Linked DNA regions of Homo sapiens: region 2 is linked to region 1. Evidence: promoter capture Hi-C in 16 types of primary human blood cells and fetal thymus (Javierre and others, 2016). All regions are on one chromosome and are shown on one strand. Each heading gives the region's core, a stretch centred on a gene start or on the middle of the fragment in contact. The rest is flanking DNA. Distances are from core to core; before and after follow the strand shown. Region 1 holds the start of OAS1 (2'-5'-oligoadenylate synthetase 1). Region 2 holds the start of RASAL1 (RAS protein activator like 1).

Region 1 (5,608 bases), core at 2,592-5,091:
AGTTAATTTAGAAAGTTTATTTTGCCAAGGTTGAGGATGCCAACCCGTGACACAGCCTCAGGAGGACCTGAGGACATGTGCCCAAGGCAGTCAGAGACAGTTTGGTTTTATACATTTTAGGGGACATGAGACATCAATCAACGTATGTAAGATGGACATTGGTTTGGTCTGGAAAGGCGGGACAACTCGAAGTGGGGAGGGGGCTTCCAAGTGGTAGGTATATAAGACACAAATGGTTGCATTATTTTGAATTTCTGATTAGCCTCTCTGAAGGGGGCAATCAGAAATGCATTTATCTCAGTGAGCAGAGGGGTGATTTTGAATAGAACGGGAGGCAGGTTTGCCCTGAGCAATTCCCCAGCTTGACTTTTCCCTTTAGCTGAGTGATTTTGGGGCCCCAAGATATTTTCCTTTCACATTTCCTCCCTTTTCTTTTTAAAAATATTTTAGACAAAGCATTTTAGAAGAAAATGAGTCTCTAGTCTCAGGTTTCATCTGATTTCTCTTGGCTAGGATGGTTTATTACTATAGGGGTAAGTCCGGAGTTATTAGGAAAGCTCATTTTTAGAAGGTTGTAAAGTCTCATGTCCTGTGAAGAGAAAATAGGGGGAGGAAGGGAGAACACAACAAACAAAAGAACAATCCTGGAAAATCAAGATACAGGCCAGAGTATTCCGAAGTTCACACATCAGCAGATAGGTATGAAAGTGGCTTACGTCTGTAAATATGTAATTATTTTTTTCTGAGGTTTAAGTTGTCTAGCTCCAGTTTGCAGGGCTTTATAAAAGCACAACTTAGTTTTCAGTGATTCCAAATTAGGGAAAATGGGGGGAAAAGAAGGAAAAAATTTAAAATATTATTTTGGAGACTTGTAGCCAAGAAAAATTAGAATTCAGTCCAAACTATAGAAAATAATAAAAATTGAAAAACATTAGGCAAGACTAGAATGCAACAACAGGTGTACTATAGTTTTTGAAGCATAATCTTTCTCCAGTTTCCCATTTTTACTAAAGATGAATCATGGTAAGGGAGGAGACCACCCCTCATATTGTCTTATGCCTAATTTCTGCCTCCAAAGAAAGAAGATGTAAAAACTAAAAGGCAGAAATGAAATCCACAAGCAGGTAGCCTGGTGCCACACCCTGGGCCTGGTAGTTAAAGATCGACTCCTGACCTAATAGGTTATTTGCATAAAAAAGGCACTGTGAAGATCCCTGTCCTATTCTGTTCTGTTCTAATTACTGGTGTATGCAACCCCCAGTCATGTACCCCCTGCTTGCTCAATCCATCACGACCCTCTCACATGGACCCCCTTAGAGTTGTGAGCCCTTAAAAGGGACAAGAATCGCTCACTCGGGGAGCTCAGCTCTTGAGACAGGGGTCTTGCCCATGCTCCCGGCCGAATAAACCCCTTCCTTCTTTAACTCGGTGTCTGAGGGGTTTTTGTCTGCAGCTCTTCCTGCTACAATGGTATGACTGGTTTGCTTTATCATACTTGGCCTAATTTTTTGCATACAGTGCAGCAAGAATCTTCAACTAGTAAATGAAGTGAGTATTGCAAAGACAGCACCCCACCCTCATGGTGACATTTAGTCTTAGGCCAAAGTCAACATCTTATACAGTAGGAGTGGAGAGTGTCAACTCATGAATAATCTGGTTAAGAGGTTAAGGGTTTGTAAGAAAGATAGTTGGCATTTACAAAATATTTCATCCAACAAAAACAGGAAACACATTCTTCTCAAACTCACACAGAACATTCACCAAGACATATTATGTTCTGGGCTAGAAAACACACTTTAACAAATTTCAACAGAGATATGTTATGCAAAGCATGCCCTTTACTACAATGGAATTAAAAAAGAAACCCACAAAAGAAAGATAGCTGGAAAATTCCAAAATATATGGAGATTAAAGAACACACCTCTAAATAACACATGGGGCAAGGAAGAAGTCTCAAGAGAAATTTTAAAATATTTTGGGCCAGGCTCAGTGGCTTACGCCTATAATCCTAGCACTTTGGGAGGCTGAGGCAGATGGATCGCTTGAGCCCAGGAGTTCGAGACCAGACTGGGCCACATGCAGAAACCCCATCTCTACAAAAAATACAAAAATTAGCCAGGCATGGTGGCATGTACCTGTAGTCCCAGCTACTTGGGAGGCTGAGGTGGGAGGATCACCTGAGCCCAGGAGGTCAAGGCTGCAGTGAGCTAAGATTGTGCCACTGCACCCCAGCCTGGGCAACAGAGTGAGACCCTGTCTCAACAAAATAAATAAATATATTTTGAATTAAATTAAAATGAAAAAACAGCCTATCAAAAAGTGTGGGATGTAGTGAAAGTAGTGTTTAGAGGGAAAGTTATAGCATTGAATGCATATATTAGGAGAAGAAAGATCTAACTCAGAGAGGGATGAACAGGTGAGGCATAGGGGATTTTAAGGTAGTGAAACTCTTGCAGGGCAGGGGAGCCCCAAAACTGGGACACCGTCCGGGAAGGCTCTTGGCTTCGTCCAGGAAGGAATTCAAGGGTGAGCTAGAGGAGGAAGAAAAAGGTTTATTGAGGCAGCAGGGTTACAGTTCTGTGACTGTCCCTGCAGAGCAGGGCCACCCCATAGGCAGTGCCTGGAGAGCAGCAGCTCAGGGCACTTCTATAGTCACATTCATACCCACTTTTAAATACGTGCAAATTAAGGGCAGGTTATTCAGAAATTTCTAGAAGAAGGGTGGTAACTGGGTCATTGCCAGGGAATGAGTAAACTGTTCATGGTGCTGGTGCTCATGCCAGCCAGTCTTCAATCTGGCCCTGAGTCAAGCCCCACCTCCTATCTCAAAACTATTCTGCATGGTGCTGTAATGGTGGATACATGACATGTTATGTTTGGCAAAATCCATAGAACTGTAGGACACAAGAGTGAACCTTAATGTAAACCTTAATGTAAATGGACTTTTGTTAATTATGATGTATTAATATCAATTCATCAATTGTAACAAATGTATCACAGTACTGTTAATAATAGAGGAACTTATTGGCAGGAGAGAGAGCTTATGGAACTCTCTGCACATTCAGCTCAATATTTCTGTAAGCCTAAAACTGCTGTGAGAAATAAAATCCAACCTGGGCAACATAGCAAGACCTTGTCTCTACAAAAAATAAAAAATGAGCTGGGTGCAGTAACGCATGCCTGTAGTCCCAGGTATTCAGGAGGCTGGGGCAGGAGGATCCCTTGAACCCAGGAAGTTGAGGTTGCACGAGTCATGATCATGCCCCTGCACTCCAGCCTGGATAACAAAGCAAGATCCTGTCTCCAAAAAATAATAAAATAAAATAAAAATCTACTAATTGAAAGGGAAAAAAGCATAGTATAATACCATTCTTAACAAAAAGAAAAGAGACCTGTGTTTGTGTGTGTGTTAACATTTGAAAAAAATCTGGAAAGCTCTATATCAAAACGTTTATAGAGGCAATTTTGTAGTGTTAGAATCATAGATGATCTTTCCACTTCCTGGTTTTTCTGACTTTTTTTCTTTTTGCAGTGGGCATGTATTGCTGGAAAATACCACAGACAACTGTGAAAGGATTTCATCAACAACAAAAAAAAGATAAAGAAGGAAACACAAAATCTGTTAAATAAGATTTATGTTGGCTGGAGGTTAAAATGCATTTCCAGAGCAGAGTTCAGAGAAAGGCTGGGCTGCTTGTTGCTGGCTAAAGGACAAAGGGTAAGTTTCAGGAAGCAGAAGAGTGAGCAGATGAAATTCAGCACTGGGATCAGGGGAGTGTCTGATTTGCAAAAGGAAAGTGCAAAGACAGCTCCTCCCTTCTGAGGAAACGAAACCAACAGCAGTCCAAGCTCAGTCAGCAGAAGAGATAAAAGCAAACAGGTCTGGGAGGCAGTTCTGTTGCCACTCTCTCTCCTGTCAATGATGGATCTCAGAAATACCCCAGCCAAATCTCTGGACAAGTTCATTGAAGACTATCTCTTGCCAGACACGTGTTTCCGCATGCAAATCAACCATGCCATTGACATCATCTGTGGGTTCCTGAAGGAAAGGTGCTTCCGAGGTAGCTCCTACCCTGTGTGTGTGTCCAAGGTGGTAAAGGTGAGTCCAGGCCTGCCTGGCCAGGGGAGGGGTGGCTGAATGTGCAAGAGTTGAGATTGAGAATGAGAGAGAGAGAGAGAGAGAAGCAAAAACCTAGAACCCAGGGTGCAAATGTGAGTACAGAGAGCTGAGATCTTCTGGGATGGTGGTTTCTTATTTATCCACACAGCATGTTAAAATAGATTCTGGGGTGAAATCCTACATCCCTATTATTAACAAGTGACCCTCCCCCCTACTTCCCGCTGAAGTTTATGAACCACTGTCCTGGGCGATGCCCATTTCAGAAATAGGGAACTGAATCCCAGCTCTGGTAAACAGTTTGCTAATTCGTGGCCAGGCTAGGGGCTCACCATTTCTGCAGTGAAGAATCATATGTTTTGAAAGCAAATAGCACCTGCTGGCTGCAAGACCTTGAGCAAGTCACTTAACTACTCTGTGTTCCAATTTCCTCAGCCATAATCCCCAATACTGTTGCAGTCTTGCCAGTGCACCTTAATGTAGCAGCTTCTCACTGAATTAGTACCCAAGGTTCTTTGTCCTGCATCCAAGAAAATTAAGGAACATGGACACAAACGTGAGCTTGGAGCAAAAGTTCAGTAAGCAAAAGAAGAAAGCTGTCTCCACTGTGGAGAGGGAAGTCTGAGTGGATTGCCAGATTGCAGCTGAATGCAAAAAACTTTTATAAGAAACCACTCTCCTCCCTGTAACTGTTTGAGAAACTTTTTATCAGTAAAGCTGTGCAACTTCCCTTACCTTATGCAGCTGTGGGTATATCTCTAGGCAAGCATAAAGCGCTGCTTCTCTTGTATGTATAACTGTGGATTTGTTTTAGGTAAGTCCCACTCCCTGCGCCAGTTTCAGGCAGGCCGCTCCTCCAGGGCCCAGCCTTGACCATTTACCTAACTGATTTTTCCTCTACTTTCCCTCAATACCTCATAGGGCCGTGTAGATTAAGTAAAATAGTAAGTGTGAACCACCCAGCATAAGCTAGTCCTGGGCATCGTAAAGGACAATGGGAAAAGAACACAGATCCTGGAAGAAGGCCCCCAGGTTTGAATTGTATTTGCCACCTACTAGCTGGGTGATGGGGCTGATATATTATCTCACTGAGCATCCATTTTCCCATCTGTAAAATGGGAACTAATGATAATGGCATCCAAATCATAGCATCATTGTGAGCATTATAGGAGTTTAAGACATGCAATGCCTTCAGAACAGTGGCTAGTGCTCCATAATGTTAGTGATTGCTCCTGTCATTTTATTTAGGGAGGTTTGCCTCACTAAGCATCAATTATTATTTTTGTCGTCTTTTTCAGGGTGGCTCCTCAGGCAAGGGCACCACCCTCAGAGGCCGATCTGACGCTGACCTGGTTGTCTTCCTCAGTCCTCTCACCACTTTTCAGGATCAGTTAAATCGCCGGGGAGAGTTCATCCAGGAAATTAGGAGACAGCTGGAAGCCTGTCAAAGAGAGAGAGCATTTTCCGTGAAGTTTGAGGTCCAGGCTCCAC
Region 2 (5,754 bases), core at 1,669-4,168, 230 kb after region 1:
CTACATCTGAATCCCCTTCTGTGGAGTGCCCCAAGCCTCAGTTTCCTCTTCTGGCTCCATCCCAAATCCATTGGAGCCTCAGTTTCCCCATCTGGGCTTCACCTTCAGACTCCTGTGGCTGGTAATGTCCTGTGTCTCAGTTTCCTTCCCTGGGTTCTCCACCCCTAAGCTTCCTTTATGCAGGCTCCCACCCCTCAGTTTCCCCAACTACAGATGTGGGGTCAGATGGGCTGGGATCCCACTAGCCGAGGGCTGGGAGACACACCCCCTCCTGCAGACCCAGCCTGACCTCCAGGCCCTCCTGGGAGCCGAGCTCAGCACTAGTCAGCTGCAGGGCTCTGACGCATGAGGGCCTTATCAGACTCCTATCAGGGAGGGCAACGGTGGCAAGAGGGGGTGGCTGCTTCCAGACCCCTGATCTCTCCAGACTTGTGGCCTCTCCCACGGCCCCTGACTCAGCTCAGTCTTGGGAAAGCAGGCCCCTCAGCCATTGCCTGCCCAGTCTGGTTTGGGCATGGAGTAGTCAGAGTTCAAATCGCAGCTGGGTGACCTTAGGCAAGTGACTGCCTCTCTGGTCCTCAGTTTCCCCATTTGTAAAATAAGAGACGCCAATAGAACTATATGAAGTGTTAAGCACAGGGCCTGTCCATACTAAGCCCTCAGTGACTGACTGCTACTATTTCTAATAGTAAAAACTCTAAAATTACCTGAAGAGGCCTCCTCCCGGGCCAGAATGGACCCCCCTCAAACCTGGCAATGCTTTAGGCAGAATCTGGGCCCTTTCCCTTAGGAGAAGAGGGAAAGAACACACCCCACCTAAGGGCTCCCATGGCATGGAGCTCCCAGCAGCCTCCAGGAAGAGCCCCTTTGAAGAAGGGTGCTGACAGCTAGGGAAACTGAGGCAGGGTGGCCAGAACCCCCCCTGCCAGCTGGGGCTAAGTGACTCCTCCCCACCCTTGCTCTAGGGCATGACCTATTTCATAGCTCACTGGCCCAGGAATTGGGGGCAGGAAGTTTGGCCAAGAGCTGCAGGAACCAGGCATGACTCAAGTCCCTTCTCCAGAAGAGCAGCAGGTTACCGTAAGCCAGTGTCCAGGTGCAGGGGTGACACCCATCGCCCCCTCATGACCTCTCACCCAGGGCTGGTGGAGGGGCCAGAGCTCAGTGAGTGAGAACCCCGTTTCTGGAAAGAACTCCTTTCACCACCTAGCAGCTGCCAGGCATCCAGCCTGGCCTCAATGCCCTAACAGTGTAGGCCGTCTCATTCCCAGGGCCTCTGAGGGGACATCTTAGAAAGAGTCTGGTGGGGGGGCTTGTCCAGCCACTGAACTGTCAGAGCACACACTCTGCTTCTCATTCAGGGTGTGTATATTTGGAGTAGCCAATGAGGATGAAGGGTGGCAAAAATTGCTCTCAACAGCTGCCCCCTTGACGCAGCTGCAGTGTTTTGGGGGTTGGGAATGTCATAAAATCAGGCAGGAAAGTCCTCTCTGGGAGCCCACACCTTGGGGAATCAGCACAGAGCTAAGACTGAATCTTGACACAGGTGAAGGCTCCCAATCCATGCTCCTGCTCACCTGGGCCACAGGGGAACTCCTAACAGGTCCTCCACCCTCCCAGCTGGATGGGAGACCCCAGGCAACCAGATGGGGACTCCGGTCCAGAGCTCTCATTGCCCAAATGGGAAACCAAGGCCCAGAGAGAAGCAGGTTCAAGGTCACACAACAAATGTCCTCCAGAGGATCCCACACCTGTCGCAGGTGCTAAGGCCCTCAGAGCCCCTTCTGGGCACTATGCCAAGCAGGAGGGGGAACCCGCCCCCCATATTCTGCTGATTCAGCAGCTGCTGACTCAGCCCTGGGGGAAGCATAGCTTGGGACTAGTAGTGAAGGGAGCCGTAGGGTCCCCCAGTCCCATTGCACCTGGCTGGGGAGGGGGTCGCAGCAAGGAATTGGCTCTTCAAGCAGCTCAGCACCCGGGGAAGGCCCACACGAGGCTGGGAGCCACAAGACTGGGGAGCTCAGGGCTTGGGGTCAAAAGGACCCTGGAGGGCCACCTGGTGACACTCTGCAAACCTAAGCACCAGATCCACACAGGATGTTAGGGCTCATCTGATCCCAGGCCCTCTCCAAGGGTCCTCCCCAGGGTTCCCTTGCTAGGCCCCCACCCACGCCTGGAGGAGCCACCTCCAACATCTGCCTGGACTAAGGAAGAGACCCCCCGCTTTCTCCCCTCCCAGATCTGACAGAATATGGCCCTCTAATCCCCTCTTCAGCTCTGGACGACCCCCTTTAGTACATCCCGGGAACAAAGACACCCCCTCCCCTGCCCGGGGGTGAGGCGGGGCATCTGCTAACTCTAGGCGCCCCCCTCCCACCGGGACAGCCATGGGCATGCGGCCTCTCGCCCCTTTAAAGCGGAACTGCCCCAAGACCAGTCTTGGACAAGAACCCCTCGCCCTCCTGCCAACCCGCCCTGGCACGCGGAAAGGGCGACGTCGGCCCCACCCCAGGCCTTGCGCGCCCCTCACCCAGAAGCGCCCGAGGAGTACTCACACGTCCTTGGCAGGCAGCGCGCGGCCCTCCACCACGCGAACATTCAGGGAGCTGCTCTTGGCCATGGCGCCTAGCCACAAACTTTCCAGGCAGAAGGGCGCTCAGGTTCCGAGGCTGGACCAGGGGACGTCTACATGTCACCTGCTTCAAGCCTGGCTCCCTGCCTCGTGGTCCCAGTGCCGCCTGTCCGAGACCCGGGTAGCTGGATGGGAGATTTCCGAAAGAGGAGAAGGTGTAGGTGCCCGGGGAGGGAGCGCCCGTCCGGACTCTACAGGTAGGAGCCGTGCTCCGAGCAGGAGGAGCGCGCAGGGGGCGCAGCGGGCTCTTGCCGAGGCGTCTGGAGCTCCAGACAAGCAGGCTGGGCGGGCAGGGGGCGGGAGGGGCGGCCCAGGGACCTCCCCACAATCCCGCCTCCAATGGGGTCCCCCACCTGACCCCGGGCCCCCTCGCGCGCCCTCTACCGGCACCCCAGTCATGCGCGCCAGAGCGCACGGGCGGCGGAGACAAGGGTGCACCGCCAGGTGGGGAGGGGCCCCCGTCCTGATGGGCGTGGCCGCTGGCTCCTGGTGAGTTGGCATTGGGCTTAAAAGACATGGTCTGTGCCCCCGCCTGTCCCTCATCCAACATATTCACACCTCTCCGCCCCCACCCCTCCTTGCCTACCATGCAGACACCTGCCTCCTCTCTCCAACCTCCGCGCCCCCCGGTCCAGGAGCAAGTATTAGTGGTGGGTGGGAGGCGTCGCCAGAGAGAGGGTCGCATGTTCCCTGGGGGTCCGTTCAGAGTCAAGGGAGGGGCCTTGAACATCCCCTTCCATCTCGTTCTAGTTTCCAGTTAAACACAGAACCCAGACTCTGCTCTAACGTCACGGGCTGGCACTGCGGGGGAGGAAGCCGCGGCCAGATGGGGGAGGGGAAGGCTTGAAGATAACCACTACAGCGATGATAAAAAGTCATCTACAGTTGTTTGAACACTTCATGGGTGCCAGGCACTGTTCTAAGCGCTTTACTGGGATTAGCTCATTTTTGTCTCCAGATGTGCACTACACACTACTCCACTGTTACCCCATTATCCGCAGTTTATGGATAAAGAAACTGAGGTTCAGAGGGATTAAATAACTTGGCAGAGGTCTCACAGTCAGTAACTGATTTGCCTTCCAGGGGTTCGAATCCTGGCTCTGCCATTTGGTAGCTGTCTGGACTTGGGTAAGCCATTCAACCTCTCTGTGCTTTGGTTTGGTTTTCTCATCTGTTGAGTGAGGATGACATTGCATTTCAGTCACAGGATTTTGAAAGAATTAAAAGAGTTAATGAAGATAAAAGTCTCAGGACAGTGACAAGTACCTAATACACGTCCAGAAAGTGTTTGATATTCTGATTGTTGTCCTTTGAGGCGTGGGCCACGCGTCACCTCTCCTGGGAAGGCTTCCAGGATGCCCTTCCACTCCGGTAGAGATTTTCTTTCCTTTCTCTCTGCTCCAGTGGCTCCAGGTTTGTACATTTTTCTGATTTTAAATGAGATAATATGACAGGCAGGGCCTGTCCCAGAACAGATCCGTTCGCACACTTATTTCTCCCTGTGAATTCATTGTTGACCTGCCCAAGACCTCTTAGAAAGGCCAGGCACCAATGGGAGTGCCCCTGCAGACTGAGTGCGGGAGCCAACGCCCAGACCGGTGAGACCAGGAGTGCCCTTCCTGGATCCGTCAGCAGCCCAATGGTCTGCTTCCCAGTCTCCCTTCTTGACTCCCCACCCAGCAACCCAGACAGGCTGATGAGGAACTCAGAGCCCTGGAATTCCTTCCCCAGCTGGTGGCTGCCTGGTGAGTCTCTGACCCACCAGAGATGGGGTCTCAGTTAATCCCATCTGGGAAATGGACCTAGCAGAACAGGCTCCAAGGCTTAGAAGTATTGCAACATCCTCAGCGGGGCATGAGGGGTAATCCAGGGTTAGATCCAGAACAGTAATAGCCCCAAAGGAGTCATCCCACTGTGATTTTTTTTTTTTTTTTTGCCCAGCTGGAGGGCAGGGCTCGATCTTGGCTCACTGCAACTTCCACTCCTGGGTTCAAGTGATTCTCCTGCTTCAGCCTCCTGAGTAGCTGGGACTACAGGCACCCACTACTATGCCCGGTTAATTTTTGTATTTTTAGTAGATTTTTATAGTTTGTATTTTTATATCACCATGTTGGCCAGGCTGGTCTTGAACTCCTGATCTCAAGCAATCCACCCACCTCAGCCTCCCAAAGTGCTGGGATTATAGGCGTGAGCCACCATGCCTGGCCCACTGTGATCTTTATCAGTTACCCCAGATTCTCTCCAAAGAAAATATACCACCTAAGGTGGTGGGGGGAATGGTACTTAAGGTATTTGCTATGTAACTGAAGCTTTAAGACGGGAATCCTGCCCCCCGCCCCACACCGCCCCCCACCACACACATTTAGTGGAAGCTACTGTTTGAGCCTTTTTCTTCTGTGAGCCTGCAAAGACCGCAGACAGGCCTCCAGACCCCCAGGACCCCTTTTGGAACCCCCTGATGATGGAACCTAAGGGGCCTGTTCCTCCAGCCCCCATGGGATGCCAGCCAAACTGCCACGCAGCCATCTTGGCCCATCTTCCAGAGCTAAGCAGGAAGTCATATACCCAAACACCCTTCCCCAGCTCCCCACGGGGAAATACCAAGGATATAGACTGTGCCAGCTGGGCCTCCAGCAAGCCAGCGCTGTTACCTGTCCAATATCTGGAGGGTGACCCCAAAATTTGCCTGGGGCAATGGCCACAGTCCCCAAACTTTGCACATGGCCCGGCCATTTCCTGTTGTTCTGAGAATCTCTGACCTGAAACTAGCAGGGAGTTGGAGGTTGCCTAGGGCAGTCCATGCCAAGGGACCGAAGCGGAAAAGGCAGACCAGAGAGAGTGTGTGACCTGCGCGGGACCATCCAGCTAGGCAGGGAGAGGGCAGGCTGGTGATTCTCCCAGGGTTATTATGAGAGTTAATCTCGAGGGCAGCGTAAGGCACTTAGCATCATTCCTGGCACATAGTAGGTGCTCAAGAAATGGCCAAACCCCAACCCCAAGCTCCTTAAAGGTAAATTCATAACCATCTCTTGCAATACCCATGCGATACACACAGCAGGTGTTTCATAAAGACTTAAGTGGGAAGAAATGCTGAGCTCAGGGTTTACCAGAAGAGGGTTTAG

The links. Contacts are between HindIII fragments. The CHiCAGO score rates a contact against its expected background, and 5 or more counts as called.
Region 2: a contact is called between the fragment with the promoter of RASAL1 here and the fragment with the promoter of OAS1 in region 1, in 8 of 17 cell types (total CD4 T cells, naive CD8 T cells, activated CD4 T cells and 5 more). The highest score is 8.4, in total CD4 T cells.

The regions. Positions count from the first base shown.
Region 1 is chr12:112,903,121-112,908,728 of GRCh38, forward strand. OAS1 (2'-5'-oligoadenylate synthetase 1) reads left to right here and starts at 3,842. Exons shown (of 6, transcript NM_016816.4): 1 at 3,842-4,099; 2 at 5,416-5,608. The coding sequence starts at 3,920. RefSeq lists an enhancer at 3,683-4,122. The HindIII fragment of the contact is 17,002 bases long and covers 1-5,608 here.
Region 2 is chr12:113,132,843-113,138,596 of GRCh38, forward strand. It overlaps RASAL1 (RAS protein activator like 1), which reads right to left and starts at 2,919. Exons shown (of 21, transcript NM_001301202.2): 1 at 2,556-2,919. The coding sequence starts at 2,620. RefSeq lists a silencer at 2,906-3,045. The HindIII fragment of the contact is 4,772 bases long and covers 168-4,939 here.